Regions from separate parts of the Homo sapiens genome. Here regions 1, 2 and 3 are each linked to region 4. The links are contacts of gene promoters, found by promoter capture Hi-C in blood cells and fetal thymus (Javierre and others, 2016). All regions are on one chromosome and are shown on one strand. Each heading gives the region's core, a stretch centred on a gene start or on the middle of the fragment in contact. The rest is flanking DNA. Distances are from core to core; before and after follow the strand shown. Region 1 holds the start of MTIF3 (mitochondrial translational initiation factor 3). Region 2 has its middle 5.2 kb from the start of RASL11A. Region 3 has its middle 4.1 kb from the start of RPL21. Region 4 holds the start of RNF6 (ring finger protein 6).

Evidence for each region. The method cuts DNA at HindIII sites, captures the fragments that hold promoters and counts their contacts. A CHiCAGO score of 5 or more calls a contact.
Region 1: the fragment with the promoter of MTIF3 here is called in contact with the fragment with the promoter of RNF6 in region 4 in 6 of 17 cell types (total CD4 T cells, non-activated CD4 T cells, activated CD4 T cells and 3 more); the score reaches 9.4 in total CD4 T cells.
Region 2: a fragment that was not itself captured here is called in contact with the fragment with the promoter of RNF6 in region 4 in 1 of 17 cell types (naive CD8 T cells); the score reaches 5.6 in naive CD8 T cells.
Region 3: a fragment that was not itself captured here is called in contact with the fragment with the promoter of RNF6 in region 4 in 1 of 17 cell types (neutrophils); the score reaches 5.2 in neutrophils.

Annotation. Positions count from the first base shown.
Region 1 is chr13:27,446,065-27,453,827 of GRCh38, forward strand. It overlaps MTIF3 (mitochondrial translational initiation factor 3), which reads right to left and starts at 4,500. Exons shown (of 5, transcript NM_152912.5): 1 at 4,445-4,500. RefSeq lists enhancers at 3,737-4,651, 4,495-4,854, 4,875-4,934. The HindIII fragment of the contact is 2,682 bases long and covers 2,644-5,325 here.
Region 2 is chr13:27,262,162-27,269,039 of GRCh38, forward strand. No RefSeq gene overlaps it. Among named protein-coding and RNA genes, the nearest start is that of RASL11A, 5.2 kb to the right of the region's middle. The HindIII fragment of the contact is 1,117 bases long and covers 3,686-4,802 here.
Region 3 is chr13:27,243,990-27,250,911 of GRCh38, forward strand. No RefSeq gene overlaps it. Among named protein-coding and RNA genes, the nearest start is that of RPL21, 4.1 kb to the right of the region's middle. RefSeq lists enhancers at 6,873-6,922, 6,891-6,922. The HindIII fragment of the contact is 1,725 bases long and covers 3,230-4,954 here.
Region 4 is chr13:26,218,387-26,225,193 of GRCh38, forward strand. RNF6 (ring finger protein 6) reads right to left here and starts at 3,928. Exons shown (of 5, transcript NM_005977.4): 1 at 3,617-3,928; 2 at 2,862-2,944; 3 at 1,071-1,281; 4 at 125-220. The coding sequence starts at 1,263. RefSeq lists enhancers at 2,700-3,581, 3,582-4,463, 3,609-3,988 and a silencer at 3,109-3,158. The HindIII fragment of the contact is 7,611 bases long and covers 1,853-6,807 here.

The DNA.
Region 1 (7,763 bases), core at 3,250-5,749, 1.2 Mb after region 4:
TTTTTTTTTTGAGACAGGTTCTCACTCTGTCACCCAGACTGGAGTGCAGTGGGGCAATCTCGGCTCACTGCAACCTCCGCCTCCCAGGTTCAAGTGATTCTCCTGCTTCAGCCTCCCAAGTAGCCGGGATTACAGGTGTGCACCACTACCGCCTGGCTAATTTTTGTATTTTTAGTAGAGATGGGGTTTTACCATGTTGGCCAGGCTGGTCTCGATCTCCTGACCTCAAATGATCCACCTGCCTTGGCCTCCTGAAGTGTTGGGATTACGGGCGTGAGCCACGGCACCCGCCTGTTAATTTTCTTAGGTGTGAAAATGGAATTCTTAAGAAACAAATGCTGAAGTATTTAGGATAGTGTCATGACATCTATCACTTGCTTTGAAACCATACAGCAGAAAATATAAACAATGCACTTACGGCAGCATTTGCTAAATCTAGGTTATGGTTATACGGGTGTTCAATAATTAATACATTTTTAAAGAACAAATCAATAGCCTAGAGGGAGGAATGGTTCACTGGTAATGCCAATGTAACTATTCTAGTCTGTGTAAGTTCTAAATTTCACTGTAATTTAATACATTGACATTCTGGCTTTGTACATAATTTTAAAAAATATTCCCTTTATTCGTTTCAAGCCTATATCTAAGTGACCCATAAATAAGGAACTTTATAAACTTAAAATTCTGATTTTTTTGTAATGCATAGTGCCTTTATTTCTTCATTTAGTTTTCCTTAAACTCAGGTCTAAAAGTCTCATCATAAATGGTGATGGGGGCGGATGGGAAGGAGGCTGGCATAAAAAAAGTACACATTAGGTACAATGTATACGATTCGGGTGATGGTGCACTAAAATCTCAGAATTCACCACTATATAATTCGTCCATGTAATGAAAAACCACTTGCAGTCCAAAAGCTACTGAAATAAAAATTTTAGAAGAATAAAACAAATGGTGATGGTTTCAGTTTGAGGCAGAACTTGTACAATTTTTTGCTAGTGAACGGTTAAAAGTTAACTGGTCTACAATGGGGTGGTGTTTCTCAGAAACCACGGCCTGTCGGCATCACCTGGGGATGCTTTTCAAAACACAGATGTTTCCTCTTCCCTATCCTGTTCAGAACCAGTGGGTTAGGCCAAAAAAAAAAAAAAAAAGATGAACTTTAAGAAAAAGAGTAAGAAAACACTATAAGTGGGGTCAAGGGTAGTTTGAGCTAGGATGCCTGAGACTACCCCTAACCTTTCAAAGTTGAATAAAAATAGGAAGCCATGTTCTCTGATGAAAATCTCTGATGCCTCTGTGAGGTAAACAACACTAGGCTGAAGAGGCCAGGAGACTAACTCAAAATAGAAACAAACGCTTACGTTCTTATGATAATCCTGTTGCATTTGCTGCACTCACTCCCACAACTATACTCTCCGAGACAGCCACAATATTCTAAAAACCAATTATCTTAATGTCAATTACTTATAATGCATAACTTTATAGTATGATATCCATTTTTAATTCGATGATTACTCAGACTTTATCTGAGTTTTGACAAGTGCATATACCTTTGTAACCAAAACTCCTATCGACAGAACATCACCATTATCCCAGGAAGTTCCCTCTTGCCATTTCCAAGTCAATCTCCATCCCCAAGAGGCAACTATTGTTCTGATTTTTTCCCATCAGTCTGTCCTAAGACTTCATATAAATGGAACCAAACAATATCTACTCTTTGTTGTAAGACATCTCAGCATGTTTCGAGATTCATTCACGTTGTACGGATCATTACCTTGTTCCTTTTTATTTCTAAGAAGTGTCCTCCAAGTATATGAATATATCGCAGTTTTTAAATCTAGTTTTCGTTAATGAACACCTAGGCTGTTCCCTTTATTTATTTATTTATTTTTGGCTCTTATGAATAGCTGCTGTGAACATTCTTGTACCAAAAAAAAGACAATTATTACTGCTCCAAAGGACAGCTGTATTCCCTGTATAATTCATTATTTTGCATTCTACCGGAAGTACTGATAAAATATTTGCAGGGAAACTTCCTGGAACATGATTTAAATATGTGGTTTAGTAGATATGAGGGGTGGGTGGGTGGGCATTCTCGTCCTATAAAAAATTGCTTGCATGCATTTGAAATCATGTGGACTGAAGAGACGAAAATAACTTCTATTATTTGTTCACTCACTGCTTTTCTCATACAGCTGATATTCACAAGCTCATACTGTTATCTGTTCTTTCCTGGGAGATTGGATCAAAGTTGCATAGATTCTAGCGGACTAAATATTTGTGAAATTAATTTTGCCAATTCTCATGACTCTAAGAACTCTTTTACACCTTCCAAAGAAGTTTCATAAAGTCCTTGCTTCTGCCTGCAAACTGTCCCAGTTGCCCCATTCTGGCCTGAGCAGTGCAGCCTTAATCCCAGAGGGCCTGCGCTACCGTTACTGGGCCTTCATGCTCCCCTCCCTTGGCTCTGGTTTTGCTCTTCCATAGGGAGCACAAAGTGTACTCTCCATAATGAGGCTGAGCTGTTTACGTGCTAGAACTCCCATTTAGAACACTGGAAAAAGCCAACATTATATCTTTGGCCAACTATTTAACCTTATTTCTTTAGCTATTAAATTGAAATAATAACCATATGTTTTAAAAAGCTTTTAAACCCAGAGCTAAAGACTCTGTATTAAAAACTGGACTTACGGCCGGGCACGGTGGCTCACGCCTGTAATCCCAGCACTTTGGGGAGGCTGAGGAAGGCAGATCACTTGAGGTCAGAAGTTCAAGACCAGCCTGGCCGACATGGTGAAACCCCATCTCTACTAAAAATACAAAAAAACTAGCCGGGCCTGGTGGCGTGAGCCTGTATTCCCAGCTACTTGGGAGGCTGAGGCAGGAGAATCACTTGAACCCGGGAAGCAGAGGTTGCAATGAGCTGAGATCGTGCACCGCACTCCAGCCTAAGCATCCAGCCTAGGCAACAGGGTGAGACTCTCAAAAAAAATTTTTTTTTAACTTATTCTCCTATGTTAATCCTATGTTAGTCTTCTTCCAGAACTCTAGTGATGGGATCACTACCCATCCACAACCTCCAGTCACCTCCAAGACACCTTTGACGCCTCCACTTTCCCAGTCAACCCAACACCAAGCCTCATCGACTTCATTTCCTAAACCCCACTCGAATCCATCCAGTCCTCTCCGTATCCACTGTCACCACCGTCAGTTTAAAACATCGACCACCTCGTTTGGATTCCTGCCAGTCTCCTAACTCGGCTTGAGCCCTGGCAACCAGTTCCCACTGCACTGCGGTCACTACACCCAGGACCTTCCTCACCTTAAATAAAACTGCCCCGAGATTAAAGATCTACACCTTCGCCAGGCCAAAAGGCCCTTCCCACCTCTCCAGTTTCTTCTTTATGCCTAGGCCACACTGGCCATTCGGTTTTTGAAATACAGTACTCTCGTCCTTGGTTTAGGAAACGCCAGATCCTTAGCGCATTCTTCTGATTACCTTCCAAACTAAGCCAGTTCTCCCATCCCTCCCCCAATTTACTGAGCTTAACACTGAATGCTTCTACAGTCCAGTTGACCTTTCCTTTAAAACATTCATTACAATTACAGTTTTGTGATGATCTTAGCACTGCTGTTCTCCATCACTAGACCGTAAACTCTACGAAGCAGGAACAAAATGGACTTATTCGTTACTGTGTTGTGCCTGACAGAATGAATAGTAGTCGATTTTCAGATTCTTCTCTCCATCCTCTACTTTTCTAAGACTTAGGCCTTTCACAACACGTACTTGAAACTGAGACTTCTCAGTAAGAGAACTTCGTTTACTTGGTTCAAGTCTTAAGCCACGGAGCCCACTAAATGACAAATGAGAAAAAAAATCCCAGTCACTTCGCGACCTTCCCCCATAAGGCCTCCTCCCGCAACAGCAGGCAGCAAGAACAACGCATTTGTCCAGCATGTCCTGCGCAGGCGCCCTTCGCCTGGCTCGCTCTGCCCCACCTGTGCCAGGCAGTAAGCCGCAAGAGCACTTCCGGGAGCCCCCGACCCGGTTGTTGGTAAGTCGGCGGCGACGCCCACCTGCAGAACGGGACCGGCGGAGCGCCAGGGCTAGAGACGGGACGTAGCGACGTACTGCGTGCGTGCGTGCGCACAAACGAGGGCGCGCATGTCGGGACGGAACTAGAAAAGCTCAGTGGGGCTGGCGGCAACTCTAGGTCTAACATCCCTCGGAAGTTCGTGCAGCGGCCTCGCTGAAAATGGCTTTACAGCCCGGCAGAACCCTCCGACTCCGCAGCAGGACCTGCGGAGCCTCTCCGCCCTCGGTACCGGCGGGACGGGGTAGCCCTGACCTTCCGGGTGCCTCCTCCACAGGGGCGCCCCCTAAGGCCACGCCCTCCCGATGCCGGTCCGCGCACCGCTCCGCACGCCTCATATTTAGCATTACCTGTGCTGGGGCAAGCGATTGACATACTGTAGCGGACGCAAGTACAGCGGATCTGCGGCGAGTCCCCTTCGCTCTCCGTAGTGGGCGGGGCTTCACCCCGCGTCCTTTAAAGGAAAGGTGATGGGCGGAGCCACGTTTTTCTACTGTTGGGATTCAGTTCCGCCGACAGAAAATGCGGAGAACGCGGAGGAAGTCCCTGAGGGGAAATTGCTGCTCACCTGGCTCCCGCTGCTCCGCAGGTGCGGTGAAGGCTAATGTCGAATTTCTGCAGCAATCGGAGCAGCCCTTACTCCAGTTACATTAACACCAATCTCGGTCTCCCACTAGGGCTTTATAAATTGCTTTCATAAACGTCTTTTTAATGTAACACTGAATAAAATGTTTTATAAGCGTCTTTTATAAGGATCGTAAGTGAAAGGGCGCTGTCTCCGATTTGCAGGTGAGCAGACAGCTTCGGAGTGAGAACGGCTCCCCGCGGGTCCCCGGTGGCGCGCGGCTCCCGGAGGCAAAACAAAGCTGGGGCCGGGGCGTCGGAGCCTCCGCGTTGTAGTTGGGAGAGGTTCGAACGGGGCCCCAGCTGGCGAAAGGGAAAACGGACCCGGACCCGGACCCGTGGAGCCTGCTCGAAAGCCGGGTGCTGGGGGTCTGGGCCCCGTGTCCCCCCTCTTTTTCTTCTTCAATAAGAAATTCCTCAAGGGCAGACTGCGAGTCCACAGTCGTGAAGCCACCTAATCTGGCTTCATACCTGGAATGTTTGGATTCCTGGTACGAAGAAAAACTAACATTTATTGGCTACTTGTCCACTGGAAGGCGTTGTCTTATTTCTCATTAACTCCTTGAGTCAGCATTACGTCTTTTATTACAGATGACACAACTACTAAAGCTTTAAATAGTTCTTTGGGAGCAAAGACGAAATCTCCATTTCCTTTTTAGCTGCTGGTAGCTCGACGCTCACTGTTAAAATAGGGAGGTAATGAAACAACTCTTGTGTGAGACCGAAAGTCCAGGTGTGCATCTTGGCCATTTCCAAGTTAATCAAGAAGAATTAAGGATTCATTTTATTCTATCAAAATTATTTCTCAATGCCAAGATATTTTGTGTGACGTAGATTCGGGGACAGACTGAGTAGCACAATACCTGGGAAAAGTTAGGTGCTCAGCAATTATAATTGCCCACATTTGTGATTGCTTTTGCCTATGTGCCAGACACTGTTCTACGCACTGAACATATCTCAAGTTATTCAATCTTCAGGACAACCTTATGAGCCAATTATTATTATTACCCATTTTACAGATGAGGGAACTGAAACAAATTTGCCCAAGGTCGCACAACTAGTAGCAGAATCAAGAATAAAAAAGCCAAAAAACCCCAAACCCAGGCAAACTTTAAATGTTCCTTGCATTGCTAGACTGAAGTAGTGAGAGAAACAGTAAACAGTACGAGTCCATGAAAACATTAAAAGGATGTGAAGTATGTACAAGTAACTGAAACATTTAATGCCCAAACTAAAGACTTAAAATTTGCTAAGGTAATAGCACAGGTAGATTCACACCAAGTAATCACTGGTAACTGAAGCTACCGGCCAGCATCCATTTGCAGTCCGTCTTTGAAGGCAGCTGTGTCCAGAGCAGGTGGTTTAGGAAGCTTTCTAGACTTCCATTGTCAGATGTCTCCACGCCTAGAAGATGGTGCTTTAGTGTTCCTGGGAGGAGACATGCAGAGATGGGGTGGCAATTACAGACATGCCCACAGATGGAGAGAAGCCATTTTTTTCATCTTTTCCCTTGAACTCTTCTTTGACCTCCAGCCGAAATGGAGCTTGGCAGCTTTTGTGGGGTTTTTTGTTTTTTTGTTTTGTTTTGTTTTGTTTTGTTTTTGGAGATGGAGTCTCTCTGTGTCGCCCAGGCTGGAGTGCAGTGGCGCGATCTCGGCTCACTGCAACCTCCACCTCGCGGGTTCAAGCGATTCTCCTGCCTCAGCCTCCCGAGTAGCTGGGATTATAGGCGCGTGCCACTGGGTCGGGCTAATTTTTGTATTTTTAGTAGAGACGGGGTTTCACCATATTGGCCAGTCTGATCTCGAACTCCTGACCTCAGGTGATCCACCCCACTCGGCCTCCCAAAGTGGTAGGATTACGGGTGTGAGCCACCACGCCCGGCCACTTGGAAGCTTTTAAAGAGTCATTGAGAGCCTTGAGCTGTGCTTGGTGGGGGCAGACTTTGAAGATCCTTGAATAAAGATGAAGAGGTTTGGGGAAATGCTATTACTATGCCACAGATCTTTAATAAACTACTCCGTTATGTACATAGAAGAGGACTCTGAGACATGTGTAGAGCTTTCCCAATTGTTATCGTTTCTACATATAATTTAACCCCCTCAAAAAATGTAACTCAATAAGACTCAAATCATGGTGACTCTAAAAATGCCTATATTTTCTATTACATAGTAATTTCTACGTTAATTTCCATAGCATGCCCATGAACTTTCTCTTTCAATGAATATATTGGTGATTTGCTCTGATGAAGGAATAATGGAAATATCCCGTCCCTCTCTTTGCCTGTTAGCTTTCCAAGTCCTCCCACTTTTCCCCAACGCCGAGGGGACCTTCCAAAACAGGATTGTATGTGAGATTTACTTGCTTAGCCCAAGGTCATTGAGGTACAACATATCTGATCCACAAAAGAATCAGTCTGTGGGTGATTTCTTTAAAAAGTTATGAACACTGGGCTGCGTCTTTATAATGCCACAATGACTAACAATTCATTTAAAAATCTAATACTAATAAAAATCCTGGTGGTGGTTGTTTTTTTGTTTTGTTTGTTTGTTTTTTGAGACGGAGTCTCACTCTGCTGCCGAGGCTGGAGTGCAGTGGCACCGTGTCGGCTCTGCAACCTCCGCCTCCTGGATTCAAGCAGTTCTCCTGCCTCAGCCTCCCAAGTAGCTGGGATTATAGGCACCCACTACCACGCCTGGCTAGTTTTTATATTTTTAGTACAGACGGGATTTCACCATGTTGGCCAGGCTGGTCTCGAACTCCTGACCTCAGGTAATCCACCTGCCTCGGCCCCAAAAAGTGCTGGGATTACAGGCATGAGCCACCATGCCCAGTCAAAATCTTGGGTTTATTTTGAAGATACGAAGCATCTTCAAACTTTAAAGCCCATGTGGGTTCAGATATTCAGCATATTCTTTAACAAATAATTGTTCATAGATTAGATACTCCTCCCTCTCCAGATTATAAACTCTTACCTGGGCAGTTTTGCTAAAATTGGGGGAATTTAAGTCTATTATGTGTGAGATCCTATGTAGTGCCAACTAA
Region 2 (6,878 bases), core at 2,994-5,493, 1.0 Mb after region 4:
CGCACCTGGCCAGTAAGGGGATGTTTACTGGTACCTACTCTACTGTGGAATGAAGGGAAAAAAGACACATCATAAAGCCTTATTAAGGAGGTGACAGTATAGGAGGAACAGTAAGACCTAAATCCCTTCATAAAACAAGGTATCAAGGAGGGTAAAAGAGGAAAGAGTTGGTATTGACAGGGCTCTTGCCTCTGCCCTCTTGTTTCACTGATTATCCTGGTCTATGCAGTGGCGTGATCTTGGCTCACTGCAACCTCCGCCTCCTGGGTTCAAGAAATTCTGCCTCAGCCTCCCGAGTAGCTGGGATTACAGGTGCCCTCCATCACACCCAGCTAATTTTTTTGTATTTTTAGTAGAGATGGGGTTTTGCCATGTTGGCCAGACTGGTCTCGAACTCCTGACCTCAGGTGATCTGCTCGCCTCGGCCTCCCAGAGTTTTGGAATTACAGGCGTGAGCCACCACGCCCAGCCCAACTTGCTGCTTTTTTGACTTCAGCCTGCAGGCTTGCAAAAACCAGCAAATAAACCAAGCAGCCCTTCCTGTTGTGCCTTCCTCCTCCCTTTCATAGCTAAATTTCCTGGTCGCCCACTGCAAATCTGGCTTCCGCCTCCACCACTGATGAAACTGTACTCTTAAAGGTTACGAAAAGCTTGCTAATTAACAAATGTAGATACTTTTTTCCAATTTAATTTTATCCACATAATAATTGACACAGCCAACAAATGCTTTCTCTTGCAGAGGGTTCTGCCATCATACTTTACTGTTTCTTCTCCCTATCTGACCCCCTTCTAGCCTCATTCTGGCCCCTCCTAGATGTTCCACATTTGTCTCTCTCTCCTTTATAAATTATTCCTGGGTTATCTAAGCCAGAGGTTCTTAAAGTATGATCTCCCAGCTGGCAGCATCAGCATCATCTGAGATCTTGTTAAAAATGCAGACCTGGCCAGGGCGCGGTGGCTTACGCCTGTAATCCAGCACTTTGGGAGGCTGAGGTGGGCGGATCACGAGGTCGGGAGATCGAGACCATCCTGGCTAACACAGTGAAACCCCGTCTCTACTAAAAAATACAAAAAATTAGCCGGGTGTGGTGGCAGGCGCCTGTAGTCCCAGCTACTCGGGAGGCTGAGGCAGGAGAATGGCGTGAACCCGGGAGGCGGAGCTTGCAGCGAGCCAAGATTGTGCCACTGCACTCCAGCCTGGGCGACAGAGCGAGACTCCGTCTCAAAAAAAAAAAAAAAAAAAAAATGCAGACTTGCCCAAGACCCTCCAAATCTGAAATACTGGGGATGGGGCCCAGCACTCTATTTAACAAGCTCTCTGAGTGAATAAGATGCATGCTCAATTTTGAGAACCACTGGTCTACGTCTTTAGCCTTCTCTGATACTTGAGGCTCAGTTGCAGAGCTCACATTCTCTGAAGCCCCATATCTGTAGTTCCATCTTCCTCTTGGGCAGCTCCATCTGGATGTCCTGCAGATTAGGTTTTATAAGTGGGGAGATAATTAAATTGGAACCTCCGAACTTTGAGTAATGTGTGTGTGTGCTGATTACATGTCTGCCTTGAAATGCAGGTCCTGAGCAACCACCACAGATTGTGAATTTATAAATTAACCTCTTACTGTCCAATTTCCCTTCTTACACTTGTCAGTGAAAATGAAGAAAAATATCCTAACTATAAATTTTTTCACCCTATTTTTAAGTAATAGCCATGATTGTAAGTGAGGCTGTGTGGTTCCTTGAACTTTGAACTGAAGTCTGTTCTGATCTAGCCAGGTATTTTCTAAGGCCTTCTATTTTTATTCAGTTGAAACCAGTCCCAAAGGGTTAGATAAAATATATCACACTGTTTTTTGAAGTTTTCTTCTGAATGTTGTGGCAGAAACACACACTCAGGTTCTTGTCTCTTCCATATTCCCACTCCTGTAGTAGCATTTTCTCTGTACTAGGATGGAAAATTTGCTAAAATATAAAGAATTGCTAAAATATGAACAAGGTAGGTTTATCTTACTCTTTTTTTGTGCACAAGACAAAGGATTTAAAACTGGGTTGGATTTATTTGGAATGAGTGTTTATAGCATGTTTCTTCACCCCAGCTCCACTTAGAAAAAAATTGATAGCAAAAATCCTTCTCCACAGAATCTGTTCGACCAGTTGCTAGGTTATGAATAATAACAGTGAGGCAGCAGCTGCAGCTGCTGTTGCTGAGGTGGAAAATGTGCACAGAGGAGTGAATAAGCAGCCGAGGCTCTGCACTGTGATTCTTTTCAAACAGCCGTGTGTGGCGAGGAGCTGCTGACAGGCCACCACACAAAGCCACTAATGGAAGAGGCACACAAATGCTGTCGTACACACTTCTCCAGCAAGACTTGGATTTATGGAAATCATTTGGGTTGGAAAATAAATGGGGTACTCTTTACTGTCTCTGTAAAATGAGATGATGGCTTAGCTCAAGTGAAGATGATTGGATTTTTTTGGTTCCACCTAAGAAGGAAGAGAGGTTCAGATTAAATTAATTGCTCATGGGAGATGAGTAAGTAAACAGTTTTAAGATCTTTGAGGTCAGAGACCATATCATTTTGTTTTGTTTTTATTTTTTGAGACAGGGTCACCCAGGCTGGAGTGCAGTGGCACAATCACAGTTCACTGCAGCCTTGAACTCCTGGGCTCAAGGGTTCCTCTCACCTCGGTCTCCCAAAATGCTGGGATTACAGGCATGAGTCACCACACCAGGCCCATATCCTATTATTTGTAAGCTCCTAGTACTCATACTGTTGTATGTACAGTCTGCTCTTTGTGTCTGTATCTGTGAGTTCTGCATCCATGAACTCAACCAAGCTGGGATGGAAAATATTGGGACAAAAAATTGCATCTGTTCTGAACATGTACAAACTTTTTGCTTGTCATTCCCTAAGCAATACAGTATAACTATTTACATAGCATTTACATTGTATTAGGTATTATAAGTAATCTAGAGATGATTTAAAGTAGGAAGGAAGGGCCGGGCGCAGTGGCTCACGCCCATCGTCCCAGCACTTTGGGAGGCCAAGGTGGGTGGATCATTTGAGGTCAGGAGTTCGAGAGCAGCCTGGCCAACATGGTGAGACCCAGTCTCTACTAAAAATACAAAAATTAGCCGGGTATGGTGGCACACGCCTATAATCCCAGCTACCCAGGAGGCTGAGGCGGGAGAATTGCTCGAACCCGGGAGGTGGAGGTTGCAGTGAGCCGAGATCACACCACTGCAGTCCAGTCTGAGCAACAGAGTGAGACTCCATCTCAAAAAATAAAGTAGGAAGGATGTGCATAGGTTATATGAAAATACAACACTCTTTTTATATCAGGGACTTAAGCATCCCTGGATTTTGGTATTCTCAGTGTGTCCTGGAACTAAAGCCCTACAGATAACCCGAGAAACAACTGTAGAAGGAGCTCTTCTCCTCAAGAAATGATTAATGGCTTTCCATAGCCTCTGGATAAACTTTTTAGCATGCCATTCACAGTCTGGCCCCCAGCCTTTTGGGTCACTTACCACACCCTTCTCACTGTTGAGACTACTCAGAATTCCTCACACTTGTCATGTACCTCCATGATTTTGCGCATGCTGTTCCCTCAATTTGACAGGCCTTCGCCCTCCCCTGGTTTCCACCGATCACACCTGACTCACCTGCAGCCCAGCTCATGCTGAAGCTTTCCCTGATACTTGGATCAGACCTAACTCTCCCTGTGGCAGCTCTGTTGGAGTTTGCATCCTGACCTGCTCTGGCCTTCCATTACCAACACAGTGTTCTACAACCTGCTTTCTTTATTTTGTATTTTTTTTTTGAATTTTGAATTTTTTGAGGCAGGGTCTTGTTCTGGCCCACGCTGGAGTGCAGTGGTATGATCACAGCTCACTGCATCCTTGATTTGGGCTCAAGCAATTTTCCCACCACATCATCTTGAGTACCTGGGACAACAGGCATGCACCACCATGCCTGGCGAATTTTTCTTTCCCCTCTGCTCCCCTCCCCTCCCCTCCCTTCCCCTTTCCTTCCTCCCTCCCTCCCTCCCTTCCTTCCTCCCCTCCCCTCCCTCCCTCCTTCTTTTCTTTTATTTCCTTCTTTTTTCTTTTTTTGTAGAGACAGGGTTGAACACTGGCTTCAAGCAATCCTCCTGCCTTGGCCTCCCAAAGTGCTGGATTACAGGTGGGAGCCACAGTGCCCGGCTCTGCACCCTGCCCTCCATACCCGTGGAATGTGCCAAGATTAAAACTCAGAGGGCTTGAGGCCTGCACCACTATATGGCTCTGTGACTGGATAAGTTACTCAATTTGTCTAAACCACAATTTAGAGGATATTCTTTACCTGTTTCACAGGATTAATTAAAAATTAAGATAATATTTGAGAATTTTCTTGGTAAACTCAACAGTAATTTATAAATGATAGTGAATTTGATAAATTTCTTCACTACAGGGATGTCTGTGAAGGCAGGCAGGAGTGTGTTATACTTTGCTGTCTTAGTAAATGTTCGCTGCTCTTTATGTTCTGCGCAAGCACTTATCACAGAGCCTCACAGAGTCAATTTTCAGTAATTGTGCCTGCTGAGTTGAAGTAAAATAGGGAGCTGGTAGAGGGCAGAGCCATGATTCCTGTTTAGGGAGAGCACCTCAAAGGCAGGGGCTCTGAGGCTCCGGTAAACTCAATAGTCAAGGACTTAGGATATACAGGAGAGGGAGTTGATGTTGGGTTATGGCTGGGGTGGGGGAGTTGTTTGTGAACAAGAGGAGGACCCTTGGCAAAATTTTGCCTGATGACTAGAATTCAAGCTTTTATTTGACTGGGAAAGAGTTAATAACTTCCCAAGTGTGCTATTATTTGCATATTACCAAACTCTGGCCTTTATGCTCATTCTAAACACCCACAGATTTGTATATCTGTATCCATGCCTACGCATTTCTATTATCTTTTTAAAACCACTTCAGCACGCCTGTTATATTGGTTGCACCATAGTTTTACATAACTCTGGACACAAATTTAAAAGGAAATGGCAGAACACAAGCAGCAACAATTTAGGCAAGGCTATTTATAATTCTACAGTTCAGTCACTTACTGTCTTCACTAGAAGGTCATGGATTATTTTGTATATTTATAAATGCAAAGAGCTTTTCCAAGGAGAATGAAATAACATGTTGAGCTCTTCTGAGCAAAGGTGCAATGTAAATGCAAAGTGGAACATAATTATCACTGGGCAGAGAACAGTCTTAGGAATCTTCCTTATTGGCTGACCTTAAGCTACAATGGTCTTATTCCAGACTGGGAATGTAAAACAGAGAAGGAGGTGAGGAGAGACAGAGATACTCAGCATTCCACCAAGAAAGGACTCTTTTCCCTTGAAAGTGCTGGATTTTCACTCCAGGAAGGTGAATAGGGTTTATGGCAGATCTCCTTGGCAGTCATTCTCTCTGTGAGTTCTTGATTTTGGATGGGGGTGGTGGTATGTCCAGCTAGAGGGAGGAATCATGATTGTCTAAACTAGTCATGGCCATCCCAGTCTTCTTTGCTAGATACTTGAGTAATCTCTTTCCCAGTTTCTCTGTTCTGGCCAGTGAGATGTAAGAGAGAGTCTGCTGAGTTCTTGTGAGAACTGCTTTATTTCATAAAGAGAACAACTAAGAGAGTACTTCCTTCCCTTCCTGTTTGGGTAAGGACTTGATGCTGCAGGAGCCACCCTGCATCCATAAAGGAGAAGTCAAAAGGAATCAGAGACAACAGCCCAGACCCCCATCACGGAGCTGCACGTGACCCTGGAACTTAACAGCTTCCAGTTGTTCCCTAGACAGTCATTGTCTTTATGGTGCCTTTTCCCCCATCAGGGAGGAAGGTGCCTTGCTTCAAGTCTTTTCAATTAAACTGCAGTTTAACAGAGAAAATTGCCTTATGAACAGTCAAAAGTCAGTACAACTTAAATATGGCAGTTTATCTCAGGACATCTCCCAGCACACGTCTTCCTGAGAGCAAGCTGCTCTCAAAACCAAGGCAATGGGAAAATGGTCAGAAACATGACTTCTGTATTTTCCAGTTCATACACTGAAGACAGCATTCATTCATTCATTTGGAAAGTCAGCCAGTGAACAAACATTTATTAAGGACCTTGCCAGTCCCAGGTGCCACTATGTGCTGGGTACTAGAGTCACAAGCTAGAGTCCCTGTCCTCCTGGAGACAGACATGAAACAAATATTCCACCAGAAAGTAATGATAGTTGAGATCAGTGCCCTGAGAGTGAGTAACTGCAAGATAGGGGTGGGGACAGTGGCAGTGATCAGAGACGGCTTCTCCAAGGGAGGAACATGTAAACTGAAGTCACCATCTAGTCTAGATTAGTTTACTTCAGGATTATTCAGAATTCTGCAGATAAGAAATGAGGCCGGGCGCGGTGGCTCACGCCTGTAATCCCAGCACTTTGGGAGGCCGAGGCGGGCGGATCACGAGGTCAGGAGATCGAGACCATCCCGGCTAAAACGGTGAAACCCCGTCTCTACTAAAAATACAAAAAATTAGCCGGGCGTAGTGGCGGGCGCCTGTAGTCCCAGCTACTTGGGAGGCTGAGGCAGGAGAATGGCGTGAACCCGGGAGGCGGAGCTTGCAGTGAGCCGAGATTGCGCCACTGCACTCCAGCCTGGGCGACAGAGCGAGACTCCGTCTCAAAAAAAAAAAAAAAAAAAGAAATGAGAGCAGTAGGGATACAGAGGGAGACACCAAGAAATATAGGAGGAGAAATGATGGAACTTGGCGATTAATCAATGTGGAAGTGAGAGAGTGGGTAGAGTCAAGGATGTCTCCCAGGCTTGGGCCACTGGGTGGATGGAGACACATTCATTAGCATGGTCAATTACAAAAAT
Region 3 (6,922 bases), core at 2,842-5,341, 1.0 Mb after region 4:
TGAAACCCCCTCGCTATAAGAAATTAAAAAATTAGCTGGGTGTGGTGGCACCTGTGGTCCTAGTTACTTGGGAGGCTGAGGTGGGAGGATGGCTTGAGCCTAGGAGGTGGAGACTGTAGTGAGCTAGGATCATGCCACTGCACTCCAGCCTGGGCCATAAAGCAAGACTCTGTCCAAAAAAAAAAAAAAAAAAAAAAATTGATATAAGCATTGTATCAGTTTTGTTTCCTGAATTTGATAAATGTACTGTGGTTATATGAGAGAATGTCCTCATTCTTAGGAGACACAAATCAGTACAGTATATGGCCTAAAGAGGAAAAGATATGTGTGACCCACTCTCAAACAATTTAGAAAAAAACATATACAGTGTGTTTACATAGATGGAGAAAACAGTGGTTCTCAAAGTGGGATCCCTGGAGGAGCAGCAGTGTCACCTGGGAACTTGTTAGCAATACGAATTCTTGGGCTCAACTCAAACCTACTAAATCACCTGTCTGGGGTGGGGGCCAGGAGTCTGTGTTTTAACCTTAGCCTTCCTGGTCGTTCAGATACATGCTAAACTTTGAAAACCACTGATACAGAGAGAATGAGAAAACAAATGTGGTGAAATGTTACAATCAGTGAATGCAGAGAAAGGGCATACAGGGGTCTTCTGTAATATTCTTGAAACTTTTCTGTAAGTTTGAAATTGTTTCAAGATAAATATTAAAAACAAAATTACCCTGGTACAATAAGTGTAGACATGTGGAAAGGAGACCTGGGAGGTAGGAAAGCAAATCACAGAGTTAACACAGGAACCATGCATGAGGTGATGTAATTTACAACTAAGACTGCTGCCACTCCAGTGCTGAGTGAGGACAGGCTATCTGCAGAGTCTTCAAATAACAAATCTCCTCCTTGCAGAACATTTGGGCACCAATCATACTAATCTAAATAGGACAGTCCGGCAATCTCTGTAGAGAGGTTTCCTTCAGAAAAGCTTTCAGGGAGCATGAGGAAAACAGTGGTCACAGCACTCCAGAATTCTATCGAGGGCTGATCTGTGAGAGTGACATTCTCATTCATTGCTGTAATTTTCACCAGTTTTTGGAGTCCTCCAGTAATGTGTAAGTTATTCCAATTGGGGAGATCTTCAATCAGAATACTAGTGCTAAGAACTCCATATTTGATAAACTTGTGAAAACACACATCTTCACCAAAACCTTTGAGAGGTTTAGTGTCCAAGACTGATTTTACCCCTAAGGTATGTGACATGAGGTTGAAACCACCTTTACAAAGATTATGAAAGTGACAGAAGTCAGGCCAGGGGTGATGGCTCATGCTTGTAGTCCCAGCACTTTGGGAGGCCGAGGCGGGTGGATCATGAGGTCAGGATGTCAAGACTATCCTGGCCAACATGGTGAAACCCTGTCTCTACTAAAAATACATAAAGATTAGAAGGACGTGACGGTGCACGCCTGTAGTTCCAGCTACTCGGGAAGCTGAGGCAGGAGAACTGCTTGAACCCAGGAGGCAGAGGCTGCAGTGAGCCAAGATTGTGCCACTGCACTCCAGCCTAGGCAACAAAGTGAGACTCCATCTCAAAAAAAAAAAAAAAAAAAAAAAGAAAGTGAGAGAAGTCTAGCATAGCTGACTCCATTTTGCTTCCAGCCTCACAGGCTCGATTCAGCATTCTTTGGCACCTTGGTAAGAACCTTCACCATCTGCCTTTTGGCTTTATTTCCCATCACTCTTGTCTTGCATGGGCAACACCACACTGCTTGTACTCACCGTCACATGCTACATTGTCTTCTACGATGGAATGCTCTTTTGTCTTCATCTAACGCCCATTCATGTTTTAATGTCTTGGGCATCACTTCTCTTAGGAAGCCTCTTTCGGGAATCAAGAAGATGAGAAAGATCAAGCTACTGAAGAACAAAGGGAACAGCATGCATAACGATCCCAAGACTAGAAAAAACTTGAAGTATTTACGGAATTGAAGAAGGCAGAGAGAGACACAAGAAAGTGAGGGAGACAGGAATCTGAAAAGATAAGCACGATCTAGTTTATACAGGACTTTGTAAGACAAGGTAAGGAATTTAGATTTTATTCTAAGAGCAACAGAAAGCCTGTGGAGGGCTGTAAGCAAGGGTGTGATATAATCAGGTTTATATTTTTAAAAGATCACCCTGGCCACTATATAGGAAATGGATAGAACAGGGGCAAGAGAGGAAAAAAAAGTGACCATAAAGATGCCATTGCTGTAGTTCAGAATAAGACGTATTAGTGGCGTGGCCACAGAGATGGGAAGAGGTAGGTCAGCTGGAGATACATTAATATATTAATATTTTACAATCAGAACTGGAACAAAACTTTCCAATGGATTCCATACGGAAGGGATAAAGGGAAACTTAAAGGCAAAACCAAGGTTTCTTGATTATGCTATGTACTGAATGGAAAATATTGGAGCAGAAACAGGCTTCAGGGTAAAAATCAAGTTTTTTTGTTGTTGTTTTCTTGTTTGAGACAAAGTTTCACTTTGTCGCTCCAGCTGGAGTGCAGTGGCATGAACACAGCTCACTGTAGCCTCAACCTCTGGGCCCAAGTGATTCTCCTGCTTCAGCCCCGCAAGCAGCTGGGACTATGGGCGCATACCATCACACCCTGCTAATTTTTGTATTTTTGTAGAGACAGGGTTTCACCATCTTGCCCAGACTGGTCTCGAACTCCTGTGCTCAAGCACTCTGCCTGCCCCGGCCTCCCAAACTGCTGGGATTACAGGTGTGAGCCACTGCATCTGGCAGAAAATAAAAAGTTTTATGAGCTAGGCATAGGGGTTCACGCCTGCAATCCCAGCTCTTTGGGATGCCAATGTGGGAGGATTGCCTGAGCTCAGGAGTTCAAGGCCAGCCTGGGCAACAAAAGGAGACTCCATATCTACAAAAGAATTTTTACAAATTAGCCAGGTGTGGTGGTGCATGCCTGTGATGCCAGCTACATCAGTGGCTGAGGCAGGAGGATGGCTTGAGCCCAGGAGGTTGAGGCTGCAGTGAGCCATGATCATGTTCCTGCACTCCAGCCTGGGCAAGAGAGCAAGACCCTGTCTCCAAAAGAAAAAAAAAAAAAGTATATCTAAAACTTAAAAACATCCCATAAAAACTTACAACACATCCCATAAGGTTATACCAAGGGTATAAACGTTGGTCTATAGTCCTCAGTGAGACTTCTAAATAAAACTAATTATGTAAAAGCTTGATTTTTTTTTTAAGTTGACAGAAGGTAAGCAAATTAACTGGGGAACTGTAGTGGGGATGTTAAACAGTAGAGTACCCACATACAATTAATTTTGGCTACTCTAGGCACGCTGCCTATGGGATAGCCCTGCTCCACAAGGAGCAGTTAAAAAAAAAGAAAAGAAAAATAAAAGATTTGGACATGTTGAGATGCTAAAGAGTATCCAAGAATAGATATCAAGTTGAATAGCAATCTTGAGGAAAGGCTGGAATCACATAAATCAATCTGGTAGTAAGCAACACAGAGATGAAATTTAAAATTATAGGAGTAAATGGAATTAACCAGGAAGGCAGTACAGAAAGAGAAGAGCAGGGGCCTAGCTCCAAGACCCAGGGAAATGTAGTCTTTATAGGACAGGGAGAGGAGGGAAAATCAGCAAATCAGACTGTGGAGTGGTGAGGAAGGGTAGTGTTTCATGGAGGAAGAGCTGGCCAACAGAGTCCAGTGCTTTGCGGAGATCAAGAAAGGAAAGAACAGGGAATGTCTTTTGGCTTTGGCAACATATAAGCAGTTGATGCCCTGACAAGAGCAGCTTTAATGACATGACTAGAACAGAAGTCAAATGAAACTGAAGCTGAATGAAAGATGAGGAAGAGATAATAGTGTTTATGTATTAAACTGTATGACACTGCTGAACTTTCACAATTTTTGATGTACAAAACCAAAAATTTCATGACTCCTTTTTTTTTACATTTGACAGAAGAAAAATGAACATATGGGGCAGTAGTTATAAAGGAATATGAGATCAAGCAGAATCAGAAAGAAGAGAGTTGCGGGTTTTAGTGGGGAACACCAGAGCCTGTTTGTACATGGATAAAAATGATGGAGTTGGCTGGGAGCATGTTTGTACACTGATAAAAATGAGGCAGTTGGCTGGGCGTGGTGGCTCACACCTGTAATCCCAGCACTTTGAGAGGCTGAGACAGGTGGATCACTTGAGGTCAGGAGTCCAAGACCAGCCTGGCCAACATGGCGAAACCCTGTTTCTACCAAAAATAATAAAATTAGCCGGGTGTGGTGGCACACGCCTATAATCCCAGCTACTTGGGAGGCTGAGGCATGAGAATTGCTTGAACCCAGGAGGTGGAGGTTGCAGTGAGCCGAGATCATGCCACTGCACTCCAGCCTGGGGACTAAGAGAGTCTCAAAAAAAGAGGCAGTCATCAGCTGAAAGAAAGGTGGGAGAAAGGAAGGTTTGATAATCAAAGAAATGACATGAAATAATCTTTAAATAGAATAATGTGAGACAAAATAGAAAATGTTAAGCCAGGTTTGCTTATTTCTGCTTGAACCCCTGACTGTGATGAAATGCAGCTCCTCAGGAAGAATCTTAAAACAGGATAGAGCACACGGCCCCCCGTGTCACTCGCCTGAGTTACAACGTTCCTGAAACAGTAAATGAACTTGACCTTGCCTTTTCCTACATGAAGATGTCTGACAGGGTTAGTGATTATGCTTCTACAATCTATAACCAAATTACTTTAGTAATCTATAAACTGATGTACTCTTACACCCAAACTTTAATGAGATTTCACACATACAGAACCCCCACAACCTACATAGAAGCAATGGGCTGAGGGACCACTTTGGAGCCCTGTGAAAGAACTGCCCTCAGGGTATAAACCTTGGTCTACAGTCCTCAGTGAGACTTCTGAATAAAACTAACTTTAATTATGTAAAAGCTTAATTTTTTTTTTGACAGCAGGTAAGCAAATTAACTGGGGAACTGTAGTGGGGATGCTAAACAGTACAGTACCCATTTGTTAAGGGTTGGTCGTGAATTTATGGGAGAGGCTAAAAACACAAATGCCAACAGGAGCCAGGCAGGTAAATGACTGAAGCAGGCTGAGTGATGAAGGAACTCAAGAATGAATGCCCCATCTAAAGGGGAAGCCAGTGGAGTGGCCATCAAGACTATCAGCTCTATGCTGCCAGATCTCCTGATTTCTCAAGGGAAGCCAGAAATCTTTTTTTTTTGATATGTTAATTTTTAAAACACTCTATGGGCTCAAAAAAATATTTCCAAGTGCAAAAAAATATAGTGCATGGATGACTAGTTTCTGATTTGTCATCACACCAGATTACAAGATTTTCTTCAACGGTGCTCAGCTGTGGAGGTACTGTCACGGTTGCATTTATCCAAGGTTCGGTATGTGCTAAGAAAGTGATGGGGGCCAGGCGCGGTGGCTCACGCCTATAATCCCAGCACTTTGGGAGGTGGAGGCGGGTGGATCACCTGAGGTCAGGAGTTGGAGACCAGCCTGGCCAACATGGTGAAACCTCGTCGCTACTAAAAACAAAAAAATCAGCCAGGTGTGGTGGCGGGCGCCTGTAATCCCAGCTACTCCTCGTGAGCCTGAGGCAAGAGAATCGCTTGAACCCGGGAGGCAGAGGTTGTGGTGAGTCGATGTCGCGCCACTGCACTCCAGCCTGGGCAACAAGAACAAAATTCCCTCTCAAAGAAAGAAAGAAAGTAATGGGAAAGGAAAAGTGACCTGAGGAAGTGAGTGCTAACAGAGTGACTGTAATAATGAACTACAGAAAATTAAGTTAAAGACAATCTAGAAGCCAAGGGCTAATGGTTACAGTGAAAGTCTGGAGGAGTCAACGTATTGAAGGAATCAATACCAAATCCTATTCCTCCTCAAGTTCTTCAGCAAATGATGTTAAGTGCTGATGACGATGGTCACAGAATGTACACATTTAAAAAATGGTGCTGACGCAGTTCTTAGAAATTACAACTTTCAGGTGCATCAGGAGAGTGAGTCGAAGACATGCAAATTTCAAAAGCGACTGGACGATATTATTTATATTCAGTCTGATAAGGGATTTTGTTAACTTAGCTGACTTTTTAAAAATGCATCCTAAAAATACATACAATCATGAGAAAAACATGAGACAAATTCCATGATTAGGACATCCTACAAAATACATGACCAGTACTCCTCAAAACTCTCAAGGTCACCAAAAGTAAGGAAAGTTTGAGAAACTGCCACAGCCACAAGAGGCATATAAGGAGACATCATAACTAAATGTAATGTGGTATTCTGGATGGAATCCTGGAACAGAAAAAGGGTATTAGGTAAAACCGAAGGAAATCTGAATAAAATGTGAACCTTAGTTAATAACAGTGTAAAATATTGGTTCATTAATTGCAACAAATGTACCATATTAGCATGAGATGTTAATAATAGGGGAAACTGGATGCTGGGTATATGGCATTATCTCAATTTAAATAAACTACATTAAGAAAATAATATCTATTTTTAAAGGTGTAGTGAATAAAACAATGGCCACCCATATATTTAACACCCGGTTTAATAATGGTCAATACAGTTAAAGCCTCCCTTTATTGTCCCCTCCTTACCAGATATGACTGCTTTTCTCAACTTGATTTTCATTCTCTTGTATTTCTTGACTTCTTTAACTACATATGTATGCATAACTAAGCAATATATAGCATTGTTTTACAAGTTTTAGAGTTGAATGTATATGAATTGTCATACTATTTATTTTTCTACATCTTTCTCTTTTTGCCTCATCACATTTCTGAGTTCAGTCTTCTTTTATTGGCGTATAATACTACATCCTAACATCCCATAAGGTATTTATTCTGTTATTGATGGACGTTTCTAATTTTTTGCTTCT
Region 4 (6,807 bases), core at 2,678-5,177:
CTGAATGAGTATCACATTAAAACTGGAAAAAATTGAAGACAAACATACTATACAAGGTCTAAGAATTTCATTTCTGCAAGTGCTCCAATCAAGCCTGTTCCTTATGGAAAGGACTCCATAGTACCTCTGTAATTCGTTCCATCTCTCAAGTCAGGCTGAGATGCTAGTTGTTCCTTGACGCCATCTAACCGCTGTTGCAGTTCTTCTGATGTTATTTCTCCTAAAACAATGAAAAACTGCTCATTTAAGAATTCTGAATTAAGTTTTATGAGACCTCATGAAGGGTAAGACTAATCTTTAGTAACCTATAGAAGACAAATGTCTTATTACTTTCATATGTTCTGTAAATTGAAGACAGTTAAAAATATTCAACTGGTACAAATGTGCATCAATTCGGTTGTGCTTCATTTATTAATCTTTTATTAAAAATTATTAAAATAAGATTTAATTTGAATAGTTGGTAAAGTGCTGCCAGTTGATACACTTAGGAATCTATAAGCTATAACTGTGGATTTTTGTCAGTTAAAAAGAAATTAAGGGAGCATTTATAGAGAAAACTTCAAATATTTACTTGAATTTTATCCCAAATACTTCATTATATGGGTCATCAATATACAAACACACAATATATAAACATACAAATTTCCATTAGTTCATTTGTAAAAACTTTATGGAACACATTGGGCTTTGGGGGGAGCTATTAATTCAGCTGAATAAATAAATTATAATACCCCAAATGAGTTCAAATTGGGTTTTAAGTCATATTTTATTTGTATAAAAATTACAAATAGGACCATATATGTAAATACTTAACACCATTATGTACATTAACCTGTTTCTTAGTTTGGCATTTGTATAATAGTGCTCCATGTCCCCTATTTTCACCTTATAAAATACAGAAGCCAGTGATTTTCTACTTTATTATACTAAAAAGTTCTTAAACTCACAAAAACAATATACTATATTTTCATAAAGAGAAGCAAGGAAAAAGAATACCAATTCTCCTTATCTTGAAATCCTTCCATCTAAATGATGAAAAAAGGGTGTTTCCTCTTTTACCCATCTCTTACCAGGGGTGCCTAAAAGATTATGGTCTCTCATAAGCCGATAATCTTCATCATTGAGTTCATTAATAAACTGATAATAGGCCTCTTCTCTGTGGAGACGCTCTTGCTGCCATCTTCTCTCATTTTCATGATGATTATGGTCTTGAGGTAAGGTTTCTTCACTGCCACCATCTGATCTCGATCTAGACTGATTCATCCTGAGATTCCTGGCTTTCTGTTCAAACAATATAAACAACATTCAAGGTGTTAAGTCATGGACCACATTTGGCTTTGTATTTTTAACTTGCAGTTTTTCTTAATTTTTAAATGTTGTCCCCTACCCAAATACTGTATTTGCCAAATCTTGCAGTGAGAAGCTTACATATAAAATGAAAAACAGCTTCTAGGAAATACAACACAATTGGCACTTACTTCTTTGCCTAAAGCCATTAAGTCAGACTGGATTTGGGTTTACCACACAATGCTCATGCCTGAATACCATAGTGATTATCTCATTTTTGACCATGTTGACGATCTGGAAAAGTTGATCCAGAAGTCCTCATTTATGTTTCAGGATCTGGGTACTTCACATTAATTACAAATTTTAGGCTTGAATTATGCACATTCTTCACTTAATGAGCAAAGGGATACTGGGATGATATAATTTACATTTGTTTTCAGCAAGGTATTCTTTCCAAAATAAGGCTCATGAATGTAATATTATCCCCCACTGCACTTTGATGAGGTGAAAATCATTTAGCCTAATTAATATCTACTGAACAAACTGGAAGGTGGTCTCTTATTAAAGCTTACCAGGAAGACTTTGAAACCCAACAGGAAACAAGACATCATGTATGGCTCAAGGATTGTGAAAGTGCATCAGAGCACTTTGTATCACCCCATATCAAGCCTCATCCTTAAGCCTGGAATGGTTAGTCCCAGGAGTTTCAGAATGCCAGTGAAACTTCCTGACTTTGCCTAAGAAACCACTATTTTTGGATTATATTTAAGTGTCACTCCTGAGAAGCTCACTTTTAAATTACATGGAAATCAAGAGAGAAAGATGTTTGTTTCACAAATATTTTAGAATTTCTTAAATACATCTATTCAGTAAGTCACACTAAAGCAATGGTTCTCAAACTCACTTAAGGGTATTTTTAAAAATCTAGATGCCCAAATCTCATCCCCAATCCTTGATTAGAGTTTTCCAGGGTAGGACCAGGTCTGCTGTTAAGAGCTAATTTGGGTGTTCTGCAGATGAAATAAACTATTCCTCGACAATTTCTGGCATGTCACTAAAGGGTATGAGTAATACAGCACCTGACTCAGTAGAGGCTGGAGGCTCAAATGGCTAGGCTACCAGTGAAGCAACTGTGCAACTCTGCCTCTCGAAATACACTAGGTATTTAATAAGCAAGCTGCTTTAAATATAAGGTGAAATTAGCCTACAAGTCTAAAATACTGTTGGAGTAAGCAACTATTCAATTTCACCTGTAACACTAAATTACAAATTCAAGGATTTTTTTCACTGTGGTTATTTTATTATGTCATTTTGAACAAATGACCTAGTAACATTATCCACTCAAATATGAATTAACACTACTAAAAACTCAAGATCTCTATCTTCAGATTAAGACCATAATTAGCAAAGAGCATATTTCGTAGGTACAGCAATAATAGGATTTTTGTAATAAATAATTTTACAAGTTGAAGCCTATCATAAAATCAAGTTACCCTAATATTATTTAAAACTTGAGCTTCTCCTTAAAGGTAATTTTCTTATACAGTTAATCACAATGAAAACAAAGCGAATACCTTATTTTCCTTTCAACACGCTTTTAACATATGCCATGGTATCCATCCTTCAATTGTTTGTGCCTTTTTTGAGAGCTGCCCATCTGAAGCAATAAAAGAGAGTTGAATAATTCAATAAACTGTTTCTTTAAAGGCCAGGAACGGGTGGTAGTCTCCCCACTCTGCTGCAAAGCCAAAGCAAATTCTCCAGTGGATTTTGTTAGACACATCTAGAAAATTAGATCCCCATACAATTAGGTCACGAAAACCTCCCGCAAGGCCCCTACCTTCCGCAACAAACTTAGGCCTTTCGTCCTACACTGTCACTGTTCCTGGGTTTACGCCTCCTCTCTCAAAGGCCTTCCTTCCTATCCCGTTCCCATTCGGATGTTACCAGGGTTAGGCGTCTCCGGCTTACTTCTAAACCTTGACTTTCTTGCCACCCCCGCCCTCCGTCCCGCTACTGGTTTCTTTCCCGGCCGTTGCGACGGAAGCTCGCGCCGGGGGACGATCCCCACTACGATAAATAAAGTGGGCTCAAGAGGCCCAACCAACCTCTTCCCAACCGAGCCTCAAGTAACGCTTCCCTTAGAGACCTAGATTCTCACAAGGAAGCAGGTGATAGACGGTGCATCCCAACCAATCACCAGCCAGCGGAGCGCAATAAGAAGGCAGTTAACCAATCGGAGAAGAGATGGGTGGCTCGAAGGATGGCCTGCTTTCCCCGGCGTCTCCAGGAAGTAGTGGTGGGACCCAGATCTTTCCCTCGAGCCCACCTCTCCAGGTCTTGGGCCTTCGCCCTCCTGTCCGGAGAACGTGTGCTGTGGGCGGCCGTTCTCTCGGGTGCTGGAGGCTGTGGTTGGGAGGCGGGATAGGCTTGCCGCCGCGCCTCCGGAGCCCGCTGTGCCCTCGAATTGGCCACTGAGGAGAGAAGCCGGAAGCCCGTGCTGCAGCGTGGGGTCGTCCAGCTGGAGGGGATACTCGGGAGGAAGAACGGCAGGCCCCAGCCCTTCTTTCCCGACAGCCACGCCGCCCACTTGGCGGCGGGGAGTCGCTCCGCAGCCGGCCCGGAGCTCGCCCGTGCAACTGAAAACTGCGTCCGTCGGGAGCTAGGGTGCCTGGCGTCCCGCGTTCCGCCCTCTTGCGCCGCCCTTACAGTGCCTCCTCCTCGAGGCCAAATGCCCGGCCGCTCAGCGCTCGTGGCAGCCGCGTAGTTGCAGAGACACGGTCTGCTTTCCAGGCTTGGGAAGTCCCAGCACTTAACTCTGCGCGTCGGTGTCGCTCGTTTGCCAGCCAGACTATAAAGTGCACCCAACGGTGTATGCGTCTCTTTACTTCCGGGTGTAACGTACTACCCAGCCAGGCCCTTTCCCTTGCTGTGCTTTGGAACCTGGAAATTACAAACCCTAATAAATTCTGAAGTCTGTCTGTCTGTCTATCTCTATTTGAGACAAGGTCTCATCCTGTCGCCCAGGCTAGAGCGATCGTAGCTCACTGCAGCCTCCAGCGATCCTCCCTCCTCATCCCAGTAGCTGGAACTACAGGCGCTTGCCATTAATTTCACATTTTTTCTTTTGTAGAGACGGGGGTCTCGCTATGTTGCCCAGGCTGGTTTCGTACTCGGCCTCAAGCAATCCTCTCACCTCAGCAAAATGGGATTACAGGCATGAGGCACCGCACCCCACTATATTTTGTGTTTTTTCACCTTCCCGCTAGGAAAGCAGTTTGAAACTCCCAACATTCCTCCCTCTGATTTTATTTCTGAGATGTGAGGCTTACTAAACTTACCTCACCGTTAGTTAAGATGCTGAGTAGGTCTCTGTCTAACCTGGTATAGTCCCCTTTCCTGACATCCCTACCATCTGATGACTTCATCACTGGAGAGTGCTCACAATGCCGTTACTTGTTATTCTTCCGTTTGTTCTTTCATTTCTGCATTAACTTTTGAGGAACTACCATATCCCCATTATTATGCTGGGCACCTGGATAACAAGCTACATGCAGTCCTTAGCATCAATGAGCTACCAGTGTAGTAAGGATCTATGGACAAGTGTTTAAAATAAGCATATGGATATGGATACTAAAATGGAAATATATAAAACAGCCTAGAAAGCCCTTCCAGATCTTTCTTCTGCTTACATTTACAGGCTGTTGTCTTGGCACTCCGAAACTGCTTGAAGTTCCGCCACAAGATATGGGAACTCCTAAGCAACCCCCAACTCCACTTTTACCTAATTTCCTCTGTCTCCCAAAACTCAGCTCAGTTCTCATCTTTAAGGAATTTTTCCTGATACCTCTGAAATAACACCCTTACCTCACCCTCCAGCCCGATATTTACACATAAAACTAAGCAAATGTCCCTTTTGGGGGCTCCCATACTCCCTCTATATATAAAACCCTATTTTAGCATGTATTCATGTATTTAACAAATAGTGAGTGTGACTATGTATTAGGTGCTGGTGATGACAGCCGTGAATCAGACAGTCATGTCCTCATAGAATGAAGTCCTTGCCCTCTTTTCCCATGGAAAAAGAGCCATTGAGCAAATACTTAAGATGATTTTCTGTTTTTAGGTCTTTACTACCTAGAGTCTGAACTGCTTAAGTGTGATCAAATGGTCTAATTCATTTTTGTAATCCCAGAACTTAGCACAGCACTTGGCAGAACATTCTCCTCAGCCTACTGCATAGATGAGCAGAGAAAAATGCAATCTTTTGGCAAACGGGATTAATGCACACAGTACAACGACTTCAGATATTGTGAACACACATCATAGAAAATAACAAGTAGAAATCATTTTTAATATCTGTGAATTTTGGAGAGTGCAATCAAATGCAATAATCCAAGTGCAAATACTTTTTACATGTTGAGTGGAAAAGACATATGTGTCTCTTCCTATTTTTCCTATTTCCTATTATATACCCTAAGAATAAAAAAAAAACTATTATAAAAATGTCTAAATAAAAATCCAATCAAGTGATTTACCAGGTAGGAAGTTGCAGGTTTTTGTGAGTAGAGAATCAGGTAATGTATGTAACTTGAATCCAACACCTTGCTTCAGTTTTTGTAGTCCAAGACAAAATGACTACAAAGAGGGGCTTAGATACAACAGCTGGAACAGACAGATGAATCATTCTGGATATCTACTCCAGGTCTCAGAACCTGCCAAGGTCTCTGGTCTAATTAATTTCTGTTTATTGGATTGGTACCTGGCCTTTGTAGTGTGTATGCCTCATGTAACTCCTGGACTTTTTACAATTAGGAATACAAAGATCTAAAATAATTAAAACCATAACATTAAAAGGATTCTCTGTATATCTGGTAAATTATGTACTTGTCATGTTTAAAAGATTTTGGCTTCATAAAACGACAGCCTTAATTACAATTTAAAACAAAATGGAGCACTCGATTTCAAGTTTTAAGTTGAAGTTGAAATCTTGCTAAGTTTATGGATGGCATCAGAGCAGCAAAGAGAAATATAGGCTCCCCATATTGTTTTATTATTAGTTTAAAAATTATTATATAAGATTTAAAGACGAAATTACATGTAACATTTGAAGTACTTGTGAATGAGATAAAATATTAAATGTATAAATACAGTTTAAAATGTTGGTTTGAAGATATTAAATATGTATATGAATGAGATTGAAAGTTAGTGAAGGGCTAATTCCAAATGACTGTTAAGATTTACTATACTTGACCAGGCACAGCTGCTCACACCTGTAATCCCAGCACTTTGGGAGGCCAAGGCGGGCAGATCATGAGGTCAAGAGATTGAGACCATCCTGGCCAACATGGTGAAACCCCATCTCTACTAAAATTACAAAAATTAGCTGGGTGTGGTGGCGCACACCTGTAGTCCCAGCTACTTGGGAGGCTGAGGCAGGAGAATCGCTTGAACTTGGGAGGCGGAGGTTGCAGTGAGCTGAGATTGTGCCACTGCACTCCAGCCTGGTAACAGAGCGAG